7 separate regions of the Homo sapiens genome follow, and regions 2, 3, 4, 5, 6 and 7 are each linked to region 1. The links are contacts of gene promoters, found by promoter capture Hi-C in blood cells and fetal thymus (Javierre and others, 2016). All regions are on one chromosome and are shown on one strand. The core of a region is centred on a gene start or on the middle of the fragment in contact, and the rest is flanking DNA. Distances in the headings are between cores, read along the strand shown. Region 1 holds the start of PARP12 (poly(ADP-ribose) polymerase family member 12). Region 2 overlaps HIPK2 (homeodomain interacting protein kinase 2). Region 3 overlaps HIPK2 (homeodomain interacting protein kinase 2). Region 4 overlaps SLC37A3 (solute carrier family 37 member 3). Region 5 overlaps HIPK2 (homeodomain interacting protein kinase 2). Region 6 overlaps SLC37A3 (solute carrier family 37 member 3). Region 7 has its middle 75 kb from the start of SLC37A3.

Region 1 (3,217 bases), core at 400-2,899:
AGGCTGGCCTCAAGAGCCATGTGCTGAGGGGCACAGAGCGGAGGTCAGTCAGCCTGCATCCCTGAATGACTGTATGGATCAAGGCCCCCACCCCATGCTCACTACTGGGCCTGACATGAGCAAGAAATATCTACTCTATTAAGACAAACATACACACACACACACAAAACAGGGAGCAAGCAAGAAAGGAGGGAGCAGGGGAGGAAGGAATTCTCCTTGATGACTAGCTTCCCAGTGGTTCCCCCACAACATCCTCCCTTAAATTGGCACCCACACCACTACCTTAGACTTCCTAAAACGCAAACCTGATGGTTGCTCTCTCCTGCCATTTTACCCGCCCCATCACCTCCAGGGTGAGGCCCAAATTCTTTAGCATAAACCTCAGCAATCCCTTCCACACATCCCACTGGCCACATGCTATGCACAGAACATGGACGCTAAGTGCTGGGGAGACAGCTGGAGCCTCTGCCCTCAGGGAGTTTCTATTCTACTGGCAGCTGGGTGCCATGAGGAAAATAAACAGTTCCCTGTGACCAAGAGTAAGGGGAGGAAAAATCCTCAAATGGGATGTGATCTTTAGGTTGAGGCCTGAAGGATTAACAAATAGGGCCAACCAAGAGCAAGAAGGGCATTCCAGGCAGAGCAAAGACTCCCAGAAATGCCCAGGCTCCCAGAAATGCCCGGGGGGGGGGGGGTGTTCCAGTCACAGAAGGGTCCTGGGTGGGCAGGGACCAGTGCCCCAGGACCTTGTGGGCGATGGCAGGGAGTCTGCATTTTCCAGTTTGTAAGCAGATTAATAGGGTTGAACTGGGTTTAAAGATCTCTACCAGCTGCTGGGCAGAGAAAACCTTCATTGTCTGGCCTCAAAGCTGGCAAGGGGCGACCCGCGGCGTCGTGGAGTTCCCCTAAGCCGCCGCCTCCCTCCCTCCCCACCCCACACGGCCACACCCGGGTGTTCCACCCGGCACTACCATGCTCTATGTAAATCACTCTCTCCCCCCAGGCGTCTAGAGGACCCCACTCGACCCTGAGTCCCTCGCACTGTGCCAGGTACTCCGCAGGTGCTCATTAAACGCTCGCTTTAGTGAATGACGGTGCGAGGTCAGGGCAGAGCCACCGAATTGTCTGCTCAAACTTCAAGTAGGACCCCCAAGCGGGCTGGAAGTGCGTGAGGGCGCGCAGGACCTCCGCCCGCCGTCGCTCCCGGCGCGGCGCCTTACCCGGCTCTCAGGAACTTGCAGGCGCCGTAGACCATGAACCTGCAGAGGTGGAGCTGCGCGCAGAGCCCCACGCAGCCCGGCTTGGAGCCCTGGTGCGCGCGACACAGGCGCAGCGGCGAGGCGGCCAGCACCACGCGCTCCGGGGCCGCGGCTGCGCCGCCCGCCCGCACCGCCACCACGAAGCGCCCACGCTGCCGCAGCAGCCGCTCCAGCGCGTCGGCGCTCAAGCCCATCCGCAAGCGGCGCCGCAGCTCGGGCAACTCCAGGGCGCCCCCGGCCGCGCACAGCACCTGGGTGACCTCACCGACGACGCCGGCCTGGGCCATGGCCGCTGGGCCTGCTCCCGTCGGACCGCGGGTGGCGCGACGCGGACGGCGGCGGACGCTGGCTGGCGGGCGGCTCTCGCAGGGTGGAGACGCCGGCGGGAAACGAAACCGAAAGCGGCCCCGGGCCGGCGAAAAACAGAACCTGTGCGCCCTCGCCACGCCCCCGGTCCGCAGCTGAGCGGCTGCGCCTTCCGCCTCAGGGCCCCCAGCTGTGAGGCCGCCGCCCGACGGAAGCTCGGGAGCTCTTGAGCTCGGGCGTTCGGCCCGGAGCGCGGGCTGTGGCTGTGGCGGCTCGCGGGGGTCAGTACCTAGTCCCTGAAAATGGCTTCCCTGGATGTTTGAGGGACCAGGAGCCCCTAATGCCGCGATGCTCAGCGCGCCTTCAGTCAGAGGGAGCCTCGAGGGCGGCGGCAGCGCTGGCGGAGCCGGCTGGACGCCGCCGGTTAAAGCCGCTCAGCGTCGCCCAGGCCAAGCCCGGGCTTCGTAGACGGCTCACAGAAACAGGGACAACTGACGGGAGCTCTCACCCCTCGAACAAGTGACAAAAGCGATCACTCCGCATAGAAGACGCACTTAATTAAAGGTTCCTTTCGCCTCGGTGCATCAATGAGTTCCTTCATTTAAACATAAAAGGGTATGTCCTTTAAAAGAGCAAATCCGTGAGCCGAGATTGCGCGACTGCACTCCAGCCTGGGCGACAGAGCGAGACTCCGTCTCAAAAAATAAAATAAAATAAAATAAAATCCGTTACTCCCAGCCCCTGCTAAGTAACGATTGAACAAATATTTTAGAAGACCCTTCAGAGCAAAGGACCCTCTCACACGCTGAGAGCAATGCGAGTTGTTAGAGCCCTTTGAGGAGGTAATCCAGGAATAGCTATTAAAATTGAAAACGCGTGTGACCTTTGACCCAGCAATCTTTCCTCTCGGAATCTTCCAGAAGTAAAAGGAACAGTAAATAAGTTATGTGTGAAAGTGTTACTGGGGGAACCCTACCTGGGAGGTAGGGTTACGTGGGAACAGTGTGGTTGATCTTTAAAGACTATTACGAAGGCTGTTTAACAAGCATGCGTTAGAGCTCCGTGTGCGGATGTAGAGGGGCAGACAGCCATGATGTGGTGGTAAACGAGAAAAGATGGCTGTACAGAAATGTCTAAATAATCAAGTTGAATGATCAAGAATTAATTTTTTTAAATGTCTGAATAACAAAAAGAGAAGCCTGTGTGTGTGTGTGTGGCAGGATATTTTTGAATAAGCACGGAGAAAGATGAAGAAACACACAAGGGTAGTTGAGAGGAGGCAGTAGGAGGTATTAGGAAAATGGAAAAGGGAAGATGAGAGGCAGAAGGATTGTGGGGGGAGAGTACTTACGGTATACGGTATAACATTCACTAAAAATGAATATAAAAATCTTAACTATAGGCCAGGCACAGTGGCTCACGCCTGTAATCCCAGCACTTTGGGAGGTCAAGGCGGGCGGATCACTTGAGGTCAGTAGTTTGAGACCAGCCTGGCCAACGTGGTGAAACCCCGTCTCTGCTAAAAACGTAAAAATTAGCCGGGCGTGGTAACGGGCGCCAGTAATCCCAGCTACTCGGGAGACAGGCAGGAGAATCGCTTGAATCCGGGAGGCAGAGATTGCAGTGAGCGGAGATCATGACACTGCACTCCA
Region 2 (3,217 bases), core at 306-2,805, 400 kb before region 1:
GTTCCCACACCCGTCTGCTCTTCCACATTCCAGAGACTCCCGGCCTCTAAAAGACACCTTTTTATTATGGATAATACTGGTGGTATGCTGGCATGCTGACACTGGGTAGGGGTGGGGTGGGGTGGGGTTGATCTATTGCCAATTTCCTTGGTATAAATACTGCTTCCATGGCCCATTTCAAGCAAACAACATTTTAACTACTAGCCCTTAAAAATCCTCATTATTTAACAACCAGCTCCTGCAAGCTGGTATGAACTGGCTCCAGCACACCACTGGATAATACTTAACACACTAGAAACCCTGGAGAACAATCCGACACCCAATATAAGCGTCTCTTCTACAGAATCCCTGACAGCTGTACACCAAACCTGTTTTGCTCTCCACTGGTGAGCTGCTCATGAAGTCTAACATCTGCCTAGCTTAGAATGCCCTAAGTATGCCCACTGGAGAAGTGCAGGATAAGTCTACCCATCTGTGGTGTCTTCAACATGGCAACCTTTTACATACTTGAAGACAGTGGTCATGAACCTTGGGGTCTTCTCCTTTCTTCTCCATGCTGAAACATATCCCCAGATCCTTCTACTACCCTTCACATCAAAAGTATAACAGCCCACCCACAATACAATGAACATAAAAATGTCCCAAATGTAACATAACACAATGGGGCCATTATCTCCCTTGTGCTAATCAGAGTAAGAATTGTCTTGCATCACACATAAAATACACTAACACTAATGATAGCTGATTAGTTAAAAAAAAATCACACACACAAAAAAATCTCATATGTTTTAAGGAAGTTTAGGAATTTGTGTTGAGCCACATTCAAAGCTGTCCTGGGCTGCATGCAGCCTGCAGGCTGGACAAGCTTGCTCTAAATACTATGCTTTTCTTACTCTCCTAAGATTGCATTAACCCTTTTGACAGCCACCTGATACTAACCATTCATCCTTACATAACTATCTCCCCCAAAGCCTTTCCCTCCTCCCAGAGTCTTTTAATATTATTTCAGGTTTTTCACATTAATTGATTATTAAAATACACTTGCTAAGACTACATTATTCTCACCAACTGTTATATGTTTAGCTTGGCTTCTGACCTCTACTGAGATCTTCTTTATTCTTCCAAAGGGTGTTACCCACAAACGTGCTAAAAAGCCTTTTATGTCTTCATTCAATTCACTCACATAGATTTTTGCAGCATCTACAAGGGACCTCGCCCTCTTTAATCCATGCTCTTTGAGTATAGTCCTTAGCTAACATCCAGCCAGCGGCACCACTCTCCAATCTATGTTTCTCCATCTTGCTCACAGAATTTCACACACTTGTCAAGTGCCTAGTTGAAATTTAGAATGTACTTTTAGCAGGAAAGCACTGTATAAAGGTAAGGATTTGTCTGTTATTTCCCTGCCAGAACTCTCTGAGAATGTTATGAAGAAAATAAATGGGATTCATTTGGCATGCCTTTTTCCTCAGTGAGGTCACATGGGTACCCTGTGGTCTTTCTATCGTTGCTTATAAACCACTTGCCAAAGAAATCCTGTAAGAAATTTCCTTGGGAATCAATCACATTCAGGTTGAGTTTACCACTCGGGCCATATACCAGGGGTGTACAAGCCTGTCCCTAGCTGTCTCTCCTGTGTACGACTGCCAGGCGAAGTTTCCTAAAACACCACTTTTTTTTTTTTTTTTTTTTGAGACGGAGTCTCGCTCTGTCACCCAGGCTGGAGCACAGTGGCGTGATCTCGGCTCACTGCAACCTCCACCTCCTGGGTTCAAGCGTTACTCCTACCTCAGCCTTCAAAGTAGCTGGGATTACAGGTGCACGCCACCACACCCAGCTAATCTTTGTATTTTTAGTAAAGATGGGGTTTCACATGCTGGCCAGGCTGGTCTCGAACTCCTGACCTCAAGTGATTTGCCTGCCTCGGCCTCCCAAAGTGCTGGGATTACAGGCATGAGCCATCGTGCCTGGCCTAAAATGCCACTTTCTTCATGTTGCCCTGCTGTTCAGACATTCCTGACACTATCCAAGTCCTGTCTCTGACTATCAGGGCTCTCCATCATCAGACCCCACCTTCCCACTGGCCACCATGGCCTCTGACTGGGTTTCAGGCCAGCTCCTTTCTGTCCATGACCTTCGACACTAATTCCTGCTCACACTTCCCTCAGCCCAGGAACTCTCCCTGCATCCTGCCCTTCTCATGCCCACTGGCCTTTCAGAGTGCACTTCAAGTCCCCTCCACCATGAAGCTTCTCCTCCCAGTTCTGGTCTCCACTGACCTTCACCTTCTTTATACGACATTCATTCAAATGCTTACAGCCATGGATTCACAGAAGCCTTACTTGGAAGGCTGGACTGGAGATCACCTAATTCAGCTTTCTTCCTAACTAGGAAGCGGGTTTACAGCTCAGGGGCAGCAGTGCAATGCAGCTGGAGAGTCACAGGGGCCCTGAATGCTGGCTCTGCCACTGATGAGCTGGAGGCCTCGTGGGCTTCCTCCACTGTCCTGACGTTCGGATATGACACTATACTGAAAATCCTTCAGAAACAAAAAAGAGCACCTCAGCTGTGTCTACTGGTATTTTACTGGTATTCTATGCCAAACCATATGTAACCATAAAGGTAACTGGTGGGAAGGAGGGGCTCCAGGCAGGGCAGACCTGAAACAAAGCTATTCATCTACGTTAGGGATCCCAACCCAACGGCAACTGTAAATAGCTTTGGGTAAAACAGGCTTTTGAGACATTAGAAACAAACAAACAAAATGTAAAAGTTAAATTCAATTAGACTCTGGGGTAAAATTTAACCTTGAGACTTTAGCACTCTCCACAGTGCTGACCTTTGAAGCTGGAGACAGACTGAGCAAGGAGAAGGAACTAGCCAGGAACTTCCTCAATTCTATCTCCTGCTTTCCCGAAGCCCACCCATAATGCCGGCCCACGAGTCTTCCTTCACCAGCTCTCAGAAATATTCTTGTCCTCGACTTCTGCCAAGCCAGTGTCCACATACAGGGTGACCAGGGATCAAACCCCAGAGGCCTGGGCCAAGGGGCCATTCTTCAAGGAGGACTCTGCCCCCACGCTTGGTACCGAGTCCCTGACGACCCTCCTCTCACACTTGGTCATCTCGCTTCAGCGTCCTCCCCTCATGCCCAATCTGATCCAGGTTTCTCCTGAAGTCAAACAAACAAGCAAGCAAACCAACCAACCAACCAACC
Region 3 (3,217 bases), core at 185-2,684, 340 kb before region 1:
GGATGACAGCCAAGGGTCATAAAATTGTGGAAATCATCACTGGCTGCCTCTGATGACAGATGCCCAGGATCAGACAGGAGGCCTACATGGCTGGAAACACCCTGCACCACAGCCGGCTGCCTCAGACTCCGGCCTGGCCTGGTGTGGCCCCTGCTGCCCCTTTATGAAGTCAACAGCCGCTATTCCAATGACTGGACCCAACGCTCAGTGCAGACGTGTTACCTTTGTTCTGTAGCAGAGGCCACTTTGCTTCAGGCAGCAAAATGCTCCAACAAGATATAGTTAAAGTCTTTAACAGTAATACTTTTTTAAATCCCTGAAATACCTTCATAAGGAATAAGACACTGCTGGTGGTTTTGTAGCTTAATCTTAAAATAATCTTATGGCAACACACTTATTTCCAAACATTTCTCCTTGAGAGTATTTCTCTGGAACAAACCTTCCCTATTAGTTTAGCTTTCAGAGAGTTGAGCCCACAACGTATTACTTCTCTATTTATTCAGATCCTAAAGTGAGGGACAATAAAGTGGGGGTGCAGAGGGGGACTCAATGTTTTTTTCCACTTGAAAGTAAAAGCTAAATGTCTCCTCTCATTTCTTTCTGTATTGACCTCTGGACTAGTCAAGGCTACTTCCCGCCTCATTTGTCAATATCCTTTTCAGGAAAAACAGAGGCTTAATGCACATTGTCAGTTTGATCCAATGGCAAAATCTCAACTGCTTTTTAAGTTATCTCTGCACTTCCTAGTTGGCTCTTGAAAGAGAAGGCGGATTTTACTCCTTCTAGGTGAGAGACCAGGGGGACTACTGGACTTGGGAGGGCAAGTTTCGAGCCCATGGGGAGCAGTAAGAGGAACCCAGGAGGTCACGGTAGGATAAATCTGCCATAACCACACCTGCTCCTACAGGAATGACCTGACCCAGACTTTTCCACAAAAGCCTTAGTGGCCTCCCAAGATAAAACCTGTCAAAATGGCCACATTTTCATTCACTAAAGGACAGGGAGTCACCATAACCTAGAACTAAAGCTTTTAACAAGTAGCATGCCTATTACCATACCACTCTGTCTCATAAACAGGCTGAAGTCATAAACACTGAATCTCAGATATGCATGGGGTTCTTACATGCTTGTTAATTACACAGACACGAGTTCATGTGGTTGCTACAGAAGTGATAAGTAAAAAGCACTGAAGAACAAATTTATTAAAATTTAAAACAACTTCTATTACACAACTATATATAATAAACTCTTCATTGCATATGACAAATGAAAAATAGCACCTATAAAACTGACATTAAAATATATGCTATAGTTAGAAGAATTAAAGTCCACTATTTGTAAGACATTATTCCTTATTACCATAAAGCTGACAAAGTCTCTCATGCCGAAACAAATCCAGGTTACCCAGACTTAGGGTGCACTTTGATATGCTAAAGGCAATGAGGGTTCTGACCCTTCTTTTAGTTACTTTATTGAAATTCTCATTTTGCATTTATAAAAAGCATGTATGCAAGTCTGCATTTCAAAATACTATTTTTAAAACATCTGCCTTCTAGCCTTAATTATAGATGCCATTTATGTCTATAAAATGCTAGACTTGACTTCATCTGCTATTCCTCAGGATTCTTAAAACACTTATGAGTCTCCAGGTTTTAAAATCTTGAGTACTAAGTACACAGCAGGCTCCAGGACAGATGTTTTATGGACAGGGTAAGCATACGTCCTACTGCCGGTTGGACGTATGCTTACCCTGTTAGGCCAATTCAATTATTCAGAGCACCCTCCCTACTTTCATTCTCACAAAGGTCCTACTTTGAAAACTGGGAAGTCATGTGATGGGTTTAAGCTTCTGTGATAAGTGAAAAAAATCAGACCCTGACCCCAGAAGTTCAAACCTAGATCTAAATTCTTTTTTTTTTTTGGGACAGGATCTCACTCTCTGTTGCCCAGGTTGGAGTGCAGTGGTGCAATCATAGCTCATTGCAGCCTCGAACTCCTGGGCTCACATGATTCTCCTGCCTCAGCTTCCCAAGTAGCTAGGACTATAGGAGCATAACACCATGCCCGGCTTCAAACCTATGTAATTCTATGCACCTTTTGGTTTCTCTTTGTCTTAATGGTTTAATGAGAAATTCATTGGTCTGGGGCTACAAATAATGTAATAATAAGAATATCTAAAAATCTTCATGATTTCTTGAAGTCTTAACTCACACAGTTACGGTTTTTTTCTTTCTTCTTTTTTTTTTTTTTTTGAGACAGAGTTTCACTCTTGTCACCCAGGCTGGAGTGCAATGCTGCAATCTTGGCTCACCACAACCTCTGCCTCTCGAGTTCAAGCGAATCTCCTGCCTCAGCCTCCCAAGTAGCTGGGATTATAGACGTGCGCCACCACGCCCAGCTAATATTTGTATTTTTAGTAGAGATGGGGTTTCAGCATGTTGGCCAGGCTGGTCTCGAACTCTTGACCTCAGGTGATCCACCTGCCTCGGCTTCCCAAAGTGCTGGGATTACAGGCGTGAGCCACTGCACCCAGCCAACTCACACAGTTTTTTAAAAAATGACATTTGTTAAGGGACTGGCTCATTTAGCATATTTTCCCCCCACTATTTACTTAGTTTCTTCATAACTTTATATTTCACAATTAGATGAACTGAAAAGTTGCTTCATATCTGAGTAACATTTCCTTTCCATTTCACCACCCCTAAATAAATTATCTACTGGAAGATCAGACTACAAGGATGAGTGAGGGTTCAACTACAATAAAAAAAAATAAATTGAATTCAATTTCACTGAATTCTAGCAAAGCTCAAGCCCTGATTCCCAGGGAGGTGATCTCTAAAATAGTGGCACCAATTTTATCGGTATGTAATATTTAATTTGGGTTTGGCAGATGTAAAACAGATTACCGCTCAGAATCCAGTTATATTATTCAAGAGAATGGAATCATGAACACCTGATTTTAAGAGGTACTAACTTCCTTACTTCCTAAAATCTTCTGGACACAAGCTCTGGCTGAATAATGAGTACTTAATAGATGCTACAGATCTTTTTTTTTTTTTTTCATAATAAAGAACTCAAAGGAAGGATTAATTCTCATATTTAATGAAATGCCATATCTGTCTAATATAGATTATGCACATAAGACATAACAAAATTATAGAATATGTCAAAAATATATGAATGTTGGAAATATGCATCTAAATGGACATTTTTAAAC
Region 4 (3,217 bases), core at 326-2,825, 300 kb after region 1:
TGCACTCCAGCCTGGGCGATAGAGTGGGACTCCATCTCAAAAAAAAAATGAGAAGATAAATTTAAATATGAACGTTTCTCCCTCATTATCATCAAGCTTCCTCATCTTAAGAGAAGCATGTCAGCCTTAAAGTAGATTCTATGTTGTCTAGCTGCCCCTCATATGGACTTATGCTACACAGAACAAAAGGGATGAAGAAAATCTCAATTCTGCTTCAGATGACAGAACAATACATGCTTTTTTTTTTTTTTTTTTTTTTTTTTTTTTTTTTTTGAGACAGAGTCTCACTCTGTCATCCAGGCTGGAATGCAATGATGTGATCTTGGCTCACTGCAGCCTCTGTCTCCTAGGTTCGAGCAATTCTCCTGCCGTAGCCTCCCGAGTAGCTGGGACTACAGGCCTGCCAATTTTTGTTTTTTTAGAGATGGGTTCTTGCTATGTTGGCCAGTTTGGTCTTGAAGTATTGGCCTCAAGCAATTCTCCCCACTCCCAAAGTGCTAGGATTATAGGCGTCAGACACCACGCCCAGCCAAGTTTTAGAGATAAGTCAATTTATTAGAAACACCTGGTCCTAACTGAATTTGCCTGGCTAATTTTTGTATTTTCAGTAGAGATGGGGTTCTGCCATGTTGGCCAGGCTGGTCTCAAACTCCTGACCTCAGGTGATCTGCCCTCCTTGGCCTCCCAAAGTACTGGGATTACAGGCGTGAGCCACCGTGCCCCACCAGAATCAATACATTCTGTTTTGCTGCAGAAAGCAAAATGCCCATAAGTTACAGAAGGAAGTGCAGCTCAAGATAAAAAAAAAACCATGACCATTGATTTTTCATGGCATTGATCCTTTATGTCCTAAATCTAGTCCTATAGATGACTCCATAGATGAGGAAACTAAACACCAAAAAAAGGTTAAATTCTACTTCGCAACCAAGTTTAACACAGCTAGTTAGACTACACTGCCTCTTAAACTGGTCCCTGAAAGAAATGAGTGGCTCGAAGAGAAGCGAGCACCCTGTCACCAGCTCCAGCCAAAGCCCCGTGCCTCTACATGGGGATTTTATACAGAAAATACCCAAGGTGAGGAGGTAGACTAAATGAATGACCAAAGAACTGTTCCAACTGTTTCTCTGTTTCCTCTTTGAAGAAAAGATACTCTTAATAATTAACCAAATAGGCTGGGCGCAGTGGCTCACACCTGTAATCCCAGCACTTTGGAAGGCCGAGGTGGGCGGATCATTTGAGGTCAGGAGTTTGAGACCAGTCTGACCAACACGGTGAAACCCCATCTCTACTAAAAATACAAAAAAAATTAGCAGGGCATGGTGGCACATGTCTGCAGTCCCAGCTACTCAGGAGGCTGAAGCAGCAGAATTGCTTGAACCCAGGGGGCAGAGGTTGCAGTGAGCCAAGATTGTGCCACTGCACTCCAGCCTGGGCAACACAGCAAGACTCCATCTCAAATAAAAAAAAAAATAGGCCAGGCATGGTAGCTAACGCCTGTAATCCCAGCACTTTGGAAGGCAGCGGTAAGTGGATCAACTGAGGACAGGAGTTTGAGACCAGCCTGGCCAACACGATGAAACCCCATCTCTACTAAAAATACAAACATTAGCTGGGCATGATGGTGTGCACCTGTAATCCCAGCTACCCAGGAAGCTGAGGCAGGAGAATCACTGGAACTAGGAGGCGGAGGTTGCAGTGAGCTGAGATAGCACCATTGCACTCCAGCCTGGGCAAGAGAGCAAGACTCCGTCTCAAAAAATAATAATACAATAAAATTAAATAAATAAATAAAAATAACTAACCAAATAAACATTTAGAAACTACTTCAGAACTTTTACCCAGTATTTCACATTGCCTGGACATTGAGAATTAAAAGGCGTTTTTAATAAGGCACACTTAAAGACAGAAATAAGGCATACTTAAAGACAGCATCTTATATGCTGGGGAGAAAAGGAAGGCTCCTCTCACAGTCCACGTTCCAGCTGCTGCCACCATCAGCTCCAGAACTCTAATGTGGCATCCACCACAGCTGTTCCTACAGCCAGACAGAGACGCCAGCTGCCTATCCTGACGCTGAATTACTCCTCGCCACCGTGGAATGTCTCCCAGGGTGCTACCTCTCCAGGATCCCACCTTCCTTTTTTTTTTTTTTTTTGAGATGGAGTCTCATTTTGTCATCCAGGCTGGAGTGCAGTGACGCAATCTCGGCTCACTGCAACCTCCTCCTCCCGGGTTCAAGCAATTCTTCTGCCTCAGCCTCCCAAGTAGCTGGGACTACAGGCACCCACATCTGGCTAATTTTTGTATTTTTATTGGAAATGGGGTTTCTTCATGCTGGCCAGGATGGTCTCAAACTCCTGACCCCAAGTTATCCACCTGCCTCGGTCTCCCAAAGTGCTAGGATTACAGGCGTGGGCCACCGCGCCCAGCCCCACCTTTCTTACCACTCCACCCCCGCTACCTGGCCCATTCCTCACCCACCTCTGAGGACTGGAAGCCCTAGGGCTCAGGTTTCACACCTCTTCCCCGCCCTCGCCTGTTCTCTTGATCAATTCACGCAGCCTCACAGTTTTGATCTATAAATCATCTAAAGGCCAAGGACTCCGAGCGCAGTGGCTCACGCCTGTAATCCCAGCACTTTGGGAGGCCGAGGCAAGCGGATCGTCTGAGGTTGGGTGTTCCAGATCAGCCTGACCAACATGGAGAAACTCGGTCTCTACTAAAAAAACACAAAATTAGCCGGGCGTGGTGGCGCATGCCTGCAATCCCAGCTACTCAGGAGGCTGAGGCAGGAGAATTGCTTGAACCCGAGAGGTGGAGGTTGTGGTGAGCCAAGATTGTGCCATTGCACTCCAGCCTGGGCGACAAGTGCAAAACTCTGTCTCAAAAATAAAAAATTAAAAACATAATAATAATAATAAAGGCCAAGGACTCCAAAAACATGTATCTTCAGACTGAACCTACACCTTGAACTCCACACTCAATGACCAAGTGTCTGCTCTTCATCATCTGGGCAGCAGAGGTCAAATGTAATGCATCCAAAAGCGAGTCATCAAAGCTTTCTATCTCCCCAGTCTCCCCTCTGCCATGACACTTCCACCCTGGAGGTGTTCTTGACACATTTCTCTTACATTCCACATTCAAGAGGGAAAAAATATTATTGGCTTTACCTCCAAAACACCGCTAAAATCTACTTCCCCCCAACCTCTATTACTGT
Region 5 (3,217 bases), core at 183-2,682, 300 kb before region 1:
ATTATACTTTAGGCTTGGTGTGGTGGCTCACGCCTGTAATCCCAGCACTTTGGGAGGCTGAGGCAGGTGGATCACCTGAAGTCAGGAATTTGAGACCAGCCTGGCCAACATGGTGAAAGGCTGTCTCTACTAAAAATACAAAAATTAGCCGGGCATGGTGGCGGGTGCTTGTAATCCCAGCTAATCAGGAAGTTGAGGCAGGAGAATCTCTTGAACCCAGGAGGCAGAGGTTGCAGTGAGCTGAGATCATGCCACTACACTCCAGTCTAGATGACAGAGCGAGACTCTGTCTCAAAAAAAAAAAAAATTAAACTTTGGCAAGGAAATTAACCTGGTGATGTATCTAGAACCCAACAGATGTTCAAATCCCTTGACCTAGTATATCTACTTTGGAGGACCTATCCTAACATCTAGACAAACCTCAATGTTACATAGAATTACACTGAGGAATAACTCATGATAGTAAATAACCTTAACATTTGGGGAATGTTTATGCTGACAAGACTAATAATATTTTCCTCTGTGAGTTCATCTACAGCTTCTAATCTTAGAAATTTCAACTCCTCCAGAGGTTTAATAAATATCCACTTCCATTTCCTTCAAGCTTTTGTAAAAAGCTTTGTAAAAAAGTGGAACGTTTGTCTTTATCTGCTAAAACGCAAGCTGCTTCAGGGCAGGAATTTTATCTGTTTTGCTCAATGCTGTACACTTGGCACCTAGGAGAGTCCCCAGAACACTGAATGTATTTTGAACATATTTTTGTCAAACCTCACATTTTAATCAGGCAGAATTTACATTGGTGTAATGATGTGAGGTGATGATACCCACTGAGATTTTTCAGATTGCTCTCATATAGTCCCATTCCCATTCAGGTAATCAGCCTTCCTTTCCCCATGGCCTCACAGCACCTCCTCCATCTTCTGTTAAATGCTCACAGACTATGGAACCTGAAATCTGCCTCCCCCCTTCTGCCCCATGGATGGGTCTGTCAAATTTTGTCCCAGATTTGAAGCATTATGGTTTGACACTGGATAGAGCTAACCCCTTCACCACTCTTATGGTCCATGCCTAACCTATGTCCTACCACCTTATCTTTCAAGAAAAGCAACAGAAATTGGTCTCTCAAGTTTTAAAATACTTATCCAGATTTTGATGAAAACAAAGACCATTGATACTTGGAGAAGAACCAATGTATTTACAAGTTGCCCTCTCTCATCTAGGAGGGATGAGGAAGAGTCTCTACTGTGCAGCTGGTGGTCAGGAGTCAGCTCTGGACTCAGACTGCCTGGAGTCGATCCCATCTCTGCACTCAGGAGCTGCCTCACCTGCCTGTGCCTCTGTGTAACACTGTGGAAGTGGAACCTCTTTTGAGTGTTACTACAGGGATTCAATGAATTCACACATGTAAAATCTTAGTGCAGAACTGGCAATAGCAAGTGTGCGGTATTAGCTGTTATGATCATCTTCCCATAACATGTTTTTCCTTAGAGGTCTCAGTAAGAGTATTCCTGAATATTTGATATGTTTTGCTCTCAAAGGGGACTCATGGCTTGGCTGCCCTCTACCACATTCCTACATGCCAGCCACAGGTCCAAGTGCTGTACATTCACCACCTCACTTGACCCTGTTTGATGAACAGGACAAATGGAACAAGAGTGTCACAGAAATCTGTGTTAGCACCTTCGGTCTCCAGCTTGATTGCCTCTTTTCCAAGGAGGATCCCAGATCCTTCTTACCGGAGTCAGTCTTGCACATGGCATGGATCACTCTAACTTACCTGCAAGAAGCAGGGTGGCCTGCCAGTGAAGATAAGGGCATGCGCTGGCGACAAGTGGACTGAGGTTCAAACTCTGGCTCTACCAATTACTTGTTATGAGTCCTTGCATACATTATTTCATATCTCTAAGCCTCAATTTCCTCTTCTGTAAATGGAGAAAATCATAGAGCTCTTAAATATTAGTTAATAATAGTGTATTACTATTGTGAGGATGATATTTGGCCCATTTTATTCTGGGGCCCCAAGACCAAACTGGATGAACTACACAGACCAGCTGGCTCTGAATGAACAAGAGAAAGTGGCTCCTGCACTTTGTGACCTTCCCTGAGAAGATGTGAAGGCAGGTGAGAGGAGAGGAAGTCGGAGGCTGGATCTGCATGTGCCTATGGCTTCTGGAAGTCACAGCCACAAAAGGCAGTAGAATTGCGAAGAATGCTAAGGCCAGGTCCCTGACTCTCTCACATCCAAGAAAAGCTTTCACCAAAACAACCACCATCTGATTCTAAATATTTCTGACTTTTTGTTCTGAATGTACTCTTCCAAAACAATGGTCCTCAACTGGAAATGCAAATGCTCAAGCCTACCACAGACCTACTGAATTAGAGACTCTGGGGGTGAAACCCAGCAATCTGTTGTAACAAGCCCTCCAGAGAACTGAAGGGCAAAAAGGTTGAAGAACCACTTCTTCCAGACAGTCCCTTACACAAATACACCCCAAAGAAGGTTCTGTGTGTACATCCACTTAGACCTTCACACCTACAAGTAAAACAAGGCAAATACACGCTCAAGGAACACACAGTCAAAGAATAAACAGGTAGGTAAGGGAGCCTGGCTCTGTGGGTAGACAAGTGGGAAAAAATAAATAGGTGGAAGCAGAGAGCAGAGACGCCATCAAAGAAGGATGGTAGGAGAGGCCATGGAAGTCAGTGGCTGAAACCCACAAAACATAACAGCTGTCAGAATTACCAGGTTCTCTGTCAGGTTTCACCAGCAGAAGGAACATACTGGTTACTGAACTACTTTGGCAAGCAACAGGAAATGGGTCAGTTTCATCAGCTTTGCTTTAGGAAGCAATCATATGTATGAGACCAAGGTTGAGGAGGAAAAGGAGAGCAGAGGATGCAGAAATGCAACCACCAGCCATATAAACAGGAAACATTTCAAGTTGCCTTTGTTGCTTCAGTTTTTGAAGCAAGGTGTCCCCTTATCAGTACTGCCTTTAGGACAGGGCAACAAGGGCTCAAGCCCTGAACCTCATTGGGTCAAGGCCCAAGCTCACCCCTCCCAACATGGGCTGTGCCCATTCATAGGCTGAGCACCCACCCTCTTCTTCAAGACCAGGCTCTGGGTCCCTGGGGCCATGAGATTCCCTGCCCAAAAGGCTTCATGCCTGCTTCCAGGCCCTTTCCCAGGGCCTGTGGGTGTACATGTAGACCTGGA
Region 6 (3,217 bases), core at 507-3,006, 290 kb after region 1:
AGACCAAGGCTGGGGGACTGCTTGAGGCCAGGGGTTCAAAACCAGCCTGGGCAACACAGTGCCCTTATCTCTATAAAAGATAAATTAGCCGGGCATGGTAGCACGTGCCTATATTCCCAGCTACTTGGGAGGCTGAGGTAGGAGGATGGCTTGAGCCCAGGAGGTTGAGGCTGTGGTGAACCGTATCGTGCTGCTTGAACCCAGGAGGCTGAGGCTACAGTGAGCTGTATTGTGCCACTGCACTCTAGCCTGGGCAACAGAGCAAGACCGTGTCTCAAAAACCAAAAAAACTGTGCCTTACAGTATATTGAGGCCAGTAGGTGGGCACAGTGGCTCACGCCTGTAATCCCAGCACTCTGGGAGGCCGAGGTGGGCAAATTGCCTGAGCTCAGGAGTTTGAGACCAGCCTGGGCAATACAGTGAAATGCCATCTCTACAAAAAATACAAAAAAATTAGCTGGGTGTGGTGGTGCATGACTGTAGCCCCAGGTACTTAGGGAGGATCGCTTGAGCCCAGGAGGTTGTGGCTCCAGTGAGCCAAGATCGTGCCACTCCAGCGTGGGCGACAGAGCAGTACCCCCATCTCCAAAAAAAAAAAAAAAGAAAAAAAAAAGTGGCTAGTAAATATTCACTAAAATAAAATTTAGCAGTTATGGTTTGCTAATAGGACACAATCTTTAAAAAGCAGGGATATGAATCTTTCAAGCAACAATGTCACATACAGCACCATTCTGAGTTGTAGGGGCTATTGGACATCTGGTGTGTCCTTATCAGATAGCAGGCAGCTGGACAATTTCAACTTCAGAGGATACAGAATATGGTGAGGTCTAACGGTGGCAACCTCACCTTTGGCTCTGGATTTAAGAATACGGGCAGCCAAGTTCAAATACAGTAATAGCAGATTGCCTAGCACAGACTGTGTGCTTTCACAAGCTCACGGCAGTTGAGTCTCACCACAATTCTAAATGTTAACATTATTGAAGGTTATTAAGATCTGGCACAGCCATGTAAGTAATACCCACTAAAATACATTCTGCTCCTCTGCCTTACTTCCTTGTTCATACTTATTACCTCCTTGTTGATACTTCTAGCTACAGCAAAAAAAAAAAAAACCACTATTAAAATCTTTGTTTATAATGAAACAACTGTAAAACATTCACAAAAATTAATCCCTGCTGTTACGTCTACCTCTATGATCTGACGACCTACACACTAAGGTGTATTTCCCCTTTATCCTCAGCAGATATGTTCCATGACCCCCGTGGATACCTGAAACCACAGACAGTACCAAACTCTATACATACTATGTTTTTTTCTATACATACATACCCACGATCAAGTTTAATTTATAAGTTGGGCACAGAAATTAACAATAACGACAAAATAGAAAATAATAACAATATACTGTAACATAAGTTATATGAATGGTCTCTCTGAAAATATCTTATTGTACGGTATTAAGAGTAACTGAAACTTCGAAAAGTGAAACCACAGATAAGTGGGGGACTGGTGTATTCTTCCTTATTAGGCTGGGGAAGGTGGGGAAGGTGGGAGGTAGATACAATGAACACGTTCATATTCTAACTTGGATCTCTGACATACAATTAGCTTTAGAGCTAAGATATCACTGAGAAAGCCGTATGAAAGGATTGCATTTAAAGAGATTCCCATGTGCTTCCCGAGACAAAAGAACTGATCCATCAACAAAGGACTAAGAAAAAAGAGTCCAATAAATCACAGCGCTGCCTTAGGCTAGGTCTTCCTTTCTATGGACCTCTTGTTTTTTCTTTTCTTTTCTTTTCTTTTTTTTTTTTTTTTGAGTTTGGCTGTTTACTAGTAGGACAGTTTAGGGAAAATGGCTGTAGAATAAGTAATAAAACTTTAAATGAGGCCAGATTTCACAACCCAGTAAAAGATCACTAGTGACTAACTCTTTATTATGGAAAAGATGTATCACCGGCATACCTATGATCCCTCCAACGTCGTACCAAATGGACAGCTTGTCGGCTTCCGCCTCCTTCCAGCCGAAGTTGTTACTCAGATAAAAGGGGAGCCAGAAGAAGAAGGAGTAATTCACTAACTTCAAGCAGGCGTAGGCCAGTGAGTACTACAAGAAAAGCATTCAACTATCAGCGAGGGACAAATAGCACAGCACGACTACCATTTTTAATGTCATTTAAAAGCAAAACAAAATAAAGGAAGTTAGGATGAACAGAACCTGATTTTACAGTTAAACATCTCTACAAACTCCCACATGCCTGACTTCAGCTAGTCTCCCTCTGCTCTTCATCCCTGTTAACTTCTAGACAGGCATGTACAGCAGGCCTTTGGAATAAAAAACACCTATGGCTACTTCTTAGCTGTGTCCAGTTTCTCCTCCTATCAGTTCTCTGGTAGAAGCAAGCCAGTGTTTTGAACCTATAAGGCAGAGCACATACCCATATTTCTTTATTCACACAAAGAGGAATGGTATTCATGCCACTAACCAGCGTTAACCATAGGCAAAGAAGTCCAGGAAGCATCACGGCCTTTACTGGGAGCAGCCAAACGGGGTTGGTTATTCTACTCCTTGCCAAGGCAACACTGTGAACAATGGACAGCAAAGGGACTACACTACAGTTCCACGGTCTAAGAAAAGCAGCAGCATGATAATTCCTTTCACACTAGTTTTCAAAAGCTCCACATTCCCTGGTCTGGTGGCAAAGAAGAGAGTCTCTCTGGCGAGTCAAAAATGAAAGAACATGTCATCATCGGCCTCGTGGCTCTCCCTTGAGGGGAAAAAAATGCTGCAGCTGCATGAAGATGGTGGTGGGGCTGAGACTCCTATATTCAACACATTACTACCAGGAAATCCTGACATTCAGCATCAAAGGAAAAAGGGGGGGGGGACAGAGGGGCTGACTTCAAAGGGTGTCTGGCTAGTATATTCTTTTCCCTGGAGCTGCCAGTTATTCCCTAGGTATCACTTGTTTTAAAACAGCTTCCCTGGCAGGCAACAGCCACCCCCTAGAGAGCCAAATCCCAATCACGAGTGCATTCTGACCAGACAGCCTGCTACAAAGACAAAGGAATTAAGTTAACTAGATTTCCTTTACATCCCTGCCCATGTCAGAGAACAATAGCTTGTGAAGAACAAAGGAACAGCAAAAGAGGTCCATATTTAGTCACGACAAAGTTCTTTCTCAAAAATTAAACTATTACCAGCAGAGTACTTTAA
Region 7 (3,217 bases), core at 403-2,902, 260 kb after region 1:
TAAAAGATAAGCAATAACAAGCGTCAGTGAAAACACAGAGAACCTGGAAGCTTCACAGACTGCCGATGGGATTGTAAAATGATGCAGCCACTTTGGAAAACAGTTTGATGGTTCCTCAAAATGTTAAACATAGAATCACCATGCGATGCAGCAATGCCCCAAAACTAGGTATTTACCCAGGAGAATTTAAAACACGTTCACATCAAAACTTGTACATGAATGCTCACAGAAGCAATATTCAAAATAGCCAAAAAGGGGAAACACAAATGTCCATCAACCGATGAATGAATGAACAAAATGTGGCATATCCACACAACGCAATATTATCCAGCCATAAAAAGGAATGAAGAGGCTGGGTGCAGTGGCTCATACCTGTAATCCCAGCACTTTGGGAGGCCGAGGTGGGTGGATCACCTGAGGTCAGGAGGTCAAGACCAGCCTGCCCAACATGGTGAAACCCTGTCTCTACTAAAAACACAAAAATTAGCCAGGCGTTGTGGGGCGTGTGCCTGTATCCCCAGCTACTTGGGAGGCTGAGGCAGGAGAATCGCTTGAACCCGGCAGGCGGAGGTTGCAGTGAGCAGATATCATGCCACTGCACTCCAGCCTGGGTGATAGAGCAAGACTCTATCTCAAAAAAAAAAAAAAAAGTACTGAAGAACAGATACATGCTGCAACCTAAACAAGCATTTGGCTCAATTGTACCCACAAGAGTTTAATTTATGGAGGTAACCAAGTGACTACACAGAGGTCCATGCCACTGAAAGAAGGCTTTTATGACCTACAGCCCCTGACAGGAGGGGAAGCCAGGCCATGTAGGGCCACATGGGGAAGCACCGATTTTGGACAGGAGGCAGAAGGGTGAGGGAAAAGCCAGGGCCAGAGACTTTATTGTGTTTTCTGCAGGAAAGGCAAGACAGGTCAGGGTTAAACAGTTGAGGACTGACTGCGTAAATAATTTTGCCAGGTTTTAGAGCACAGGGGCTGTCGGCTAGTTGCCTGGTGCCTGTCGCTGGGTTGATTAAGGGCAGGGGAAGATTAGCTTGGTGTGAGAGTTTGATAAAGAAGACCGCTGATTCGTTTGCAAATGAAAGGTGTTCTCCTGGGCCAGGCCTGGGCTTATCTCTAAGAACTGGCTCACTCTGGGAGGGGCAGTGTCTCCCAGTCAGCCAGGCCATGAATGACAAGACATCAAGATTATAGAAAATAAGAAAATATAGTTAATCCAGTAGGCCCGTGATGAATGAATGCCAAATAGACAAATACAGAATCGAAGAAAACACAGAATCACCTTGAAAACATTATGTAAGTAGAAGCAGCCTGTCACAAAAGACATTCTTCCATTCATTGCATCTTTCCATTCATATGCCATGTTTAGAGGAGGAAAATCCATCCACACAAAATGGAAAGCAGTATTTTCCAGAAGCAGGGGAGTGGGGAGAGTGGAGTGGACTGCTAATGGGTGGAGGGTTCCTTTTTGGGGTGATGAAAATGTCCTAAAGTTAGATAGTGGTGATGGTCACATAACTCTGCGAATAAACTAAAAAAAAAAAAAATGAATTTTACATTGTAAAGGGGTGGAGTTTCGAGTATGTGAATTACATAAAATAAAGACAAACAACCCGATGTCCATCAACTGATGACTGGATGCAAAAAATGTGGTATATCCATACAATGGAAATATTTTATGCAATAAAAAGAAATGAAATACTGATACATGCTTCAACACAGATGAACCTTGAAACGATGATGCTATGTGAAAGAAGCTAGTCACTAAAGGCCACATGCTGTTCAATTTCATTTAGAAGAAATGTCTGAAATCTATAGACACAGAAGTGTGATGGATGCCAGGGGTTAGGGGCGTGGAGGAAATGGAGAGTGAGTGCTAATGGGTATGGAGTTTCTTGGGGGGATGATGAAAATATTCTACGATTGATTGTGGTGATTCACAGCTCTGTGAATGTCTCCAAAACCTTTGTGCACTTTAAATGGATGACTTGTACGGCATGTATAAATTATATCTCAATAAAGTTGTTTTAAAAAAAAGATGAGAGTTGTTTAATACTATTAATTGCAAACAGTACATCCATAGAAGAAAAGTGCAGCCTCTGCTTACTAACAGGTCTCTGGTCTGTCTCAGATTTTATAGCTAGAGATGAGGATTCGTGCAGGATCTCACACTTAATCCAGCAAGTAAGAGAGTCACTCTCGGTGTCTAAGCAGCGGAATAACACCGCAAAAGTCCCGTTAACAAGACTATTCTAAGAGTTGAGCAGAGGGCAGAGTGAAGCGAGGCAAGGCTGGGAGCAGGAGCACCAGCGATGAGGCTGTTATCAGTCACCCAGGCACAGGATGGTGGCTCGGAAACAAAAATGAAAGATGAACTGGAAAAGTGAGGAGGAGAAAGAATCAGCAACACCTGGAGGCTGACTACATGAAAAGAGAAAGATGTGCCAAAAATGATCCTTGCGGCTGAGAGCCTGGGGGAATTGAAAGACTGGGCTGCCCCGATAGTTAAGGAGAAACCAGAAAGCGTGAGAATCATGGCCCAGTTGAGGGCCCGTGGTCCAGGAATCAGAACGACTCCATGAATGAGAATCCAGACATGGCTCGATTCCTAAGGTTCCTCAAAATCATTTCAAGCAGCTTACTGAACAAAGACCACTAGGAAAGTTATACTATTTCCTATACGATACACTAGGCGGCAGGTTTGCAGGGACTGGAGAAAACTAGCTATATTAAATTGGGATATCCTAGTGATCTCCAGGGAACCTAAGACTGGAAAATGAGTAACAAATTGGGGCTAGGGCTAAATATTTGGTAGTCATTTGTAGATTTTAAGAAATATTAAAAAGTGAACTTTCTAAGGAAGCACTAGAGCAAGAACAGAGAAAATTAAACATTAAGTAATGTTCTACCTCCTGTTTACCAGGCACTGTACTAGGAGTTTTTTGTTTTTTTGTTTTTTTTTTTTTTTTTTTAACGATTAGAATGTAGACCTTTCTAGAGTTTTGTAGACTGGTGAAGACAAGGTTGAGTATGAACAAGAATCTCTGAAACACAGAAAATGAAAGAATTTTGCCTAGAGAGTTTCTTGGGATTGAGGATTAGGAGGAAAGAGGAAATCAAGTTGGGAAAGATCAGTAGCGTTCAAAGAATGAGAAGGTACTCAACAATTTCAAAAGGGAAGAACTGGGACCTCCCAGTTTGATCAGAA

The links. Contacts are between HindIII fragments. The CHiCAGO score rates a contact against its expected background, and 5 or more counts as called.
Region 2: a fragment that was not itself captured here is called in contact with the fragment with the promoter of PARP12 in region 1 in 1 of 17 cell types (monocytes); the score reaches 5.5 in monocytes.
Region 3: a fragment that was not itself captured here is called in contact with the fragment with the promoter of PARP12 in region 1 in 1 of 17 cell types (neutrophils); the score reaches 5.2 in neutrophils.
Region 4: a contact is called between a fragment that was not itself captured here and the fragment with the promoter of PARP12 in region 1, in 1 of 17 cell types (neutrophils). The highest score is 6.5, in neutrophils.
Region 5: a fragment that was not itself captured here is called in contact with the fragment with the promoter of PARP12 in region 1 in 1 of 17 cell types (monocytes); the score reaches 5.2 in monocytes.
Region 6: a fragment that was not itself captured here is called in contact with the fragment with the promoter of PARP12 in region 1 in 5 of 17 cell types (neutrophils, erythroblasts, total CD4 T cells and 2 more); the score reaches 6.5 in neutrophils.
Region 7: a fragment that was not itself captured here is called in contact with the fragment with the promoter of PARP12 in region 1 in 6 of 17 cell types (erythroblasts, M0 macrophages, monocytes and 3 more); the score reaches 10.2 in erythroblasts.

Annotation. Positions count from the first base shown.
Region 1 is chr7:140,061,302-140,064,518 of GRCh38, forward strand. It overlaps PARP12 (poly(ADP-ribose) polymerase family member 12), which reads right to left and starts at 1,650. Exons shown (of 12, transcript NM_022750.4): 1 at 1,221-1,650. The coding sequence starts at 1,546. RefSeq lists a silencer at 1,258-1,577 and an enhancer at 1,588-1,797. The HindIII fragment of the contact is 6,136 bases long and covers 1-3,217 here.
Region 2 is chr7:139,660,946-139,664,162 of GRCh38, forward strand. All of the region lies in intron 2 of HIPK2 (homeodomain interacting protein kinase 2), which reads right to left. Among named protein-coding and RNA genes, the nearest start is that of HIPK2, 120 kb to the right of the region's middle. The HindIII fragment of the contact is 1,384 bases long and covers 864-2,247 here.
Region 3 is chr7:139,720,959-139,724,175 of GRCh38, forward strand. All of the region lies in intron 1 of HIPK2 (homeodomain interacting protein kinase 2), which reads right to left. Among named protein-coding and RNA genes, the nearest start is that of HIPK2, 55 kb to the right of the region's middle. RefSeq lists a silencer at 1-166. The HindIII fragment of the contact is 819 bases long and covers 1,026-1,844 here.
Region 4 is chr7:140,365,683-140,368,899 of GRCh38, forward strand. All of the region lies in intron 4 of SLC37A3 (solute carrier family 37 member 3), which reads right to left. Among named protein-coding and RNA genes, the nearest start is that of SLC37A3, 31 kb to the right of the region's middle. RefSeq lists enhancers at 2,067-2,568, 2,569-3,068. The HindIII fragment of the contact is 2,962 bases long and covers 95-3,056 here.
Region 5 is chr7:139,764,843-139,768,059 of GRCh38, forward strand. All of the region lies in intron 1 of HIPK2 (homeodomain interacting protein kinase 2), which reads right to left. Among named protein-coding and RNA genes, the nearest start is that of HIPK2, 12 kb to the right of the region's middle. The HindIII fragment of the contact is 1,634 bases long and covers 616-2,249 here.
Region 6 is chr7:140,346,661-140,349,877 of GRCh38, forward strand. It overlaps SLC37A3 (solute carrier family 37 member 3), which reads right to left. Exons shown (of 15, transcript NM_207113.3): 10 at 1,966-2,107. Among named protein-coding and RNA genes, the nearest start is that of SLC37A3, 50 kb to the right of the region's middle. The HindIII fragment of the contact is 5,560 bases long and covers 1-3,217 here.
Region 7 is chr7:140,321,932-140,325,148 of GRCh38, forward strand. No RefSeq gene overlaps it. Among named protein-coding and RNA genes, the nearest start is that of SLC37A3, 75 kb to the right of the region's middle. The HindIII fragment of the contact is 3,208 bases long and covers 49-3,217 here.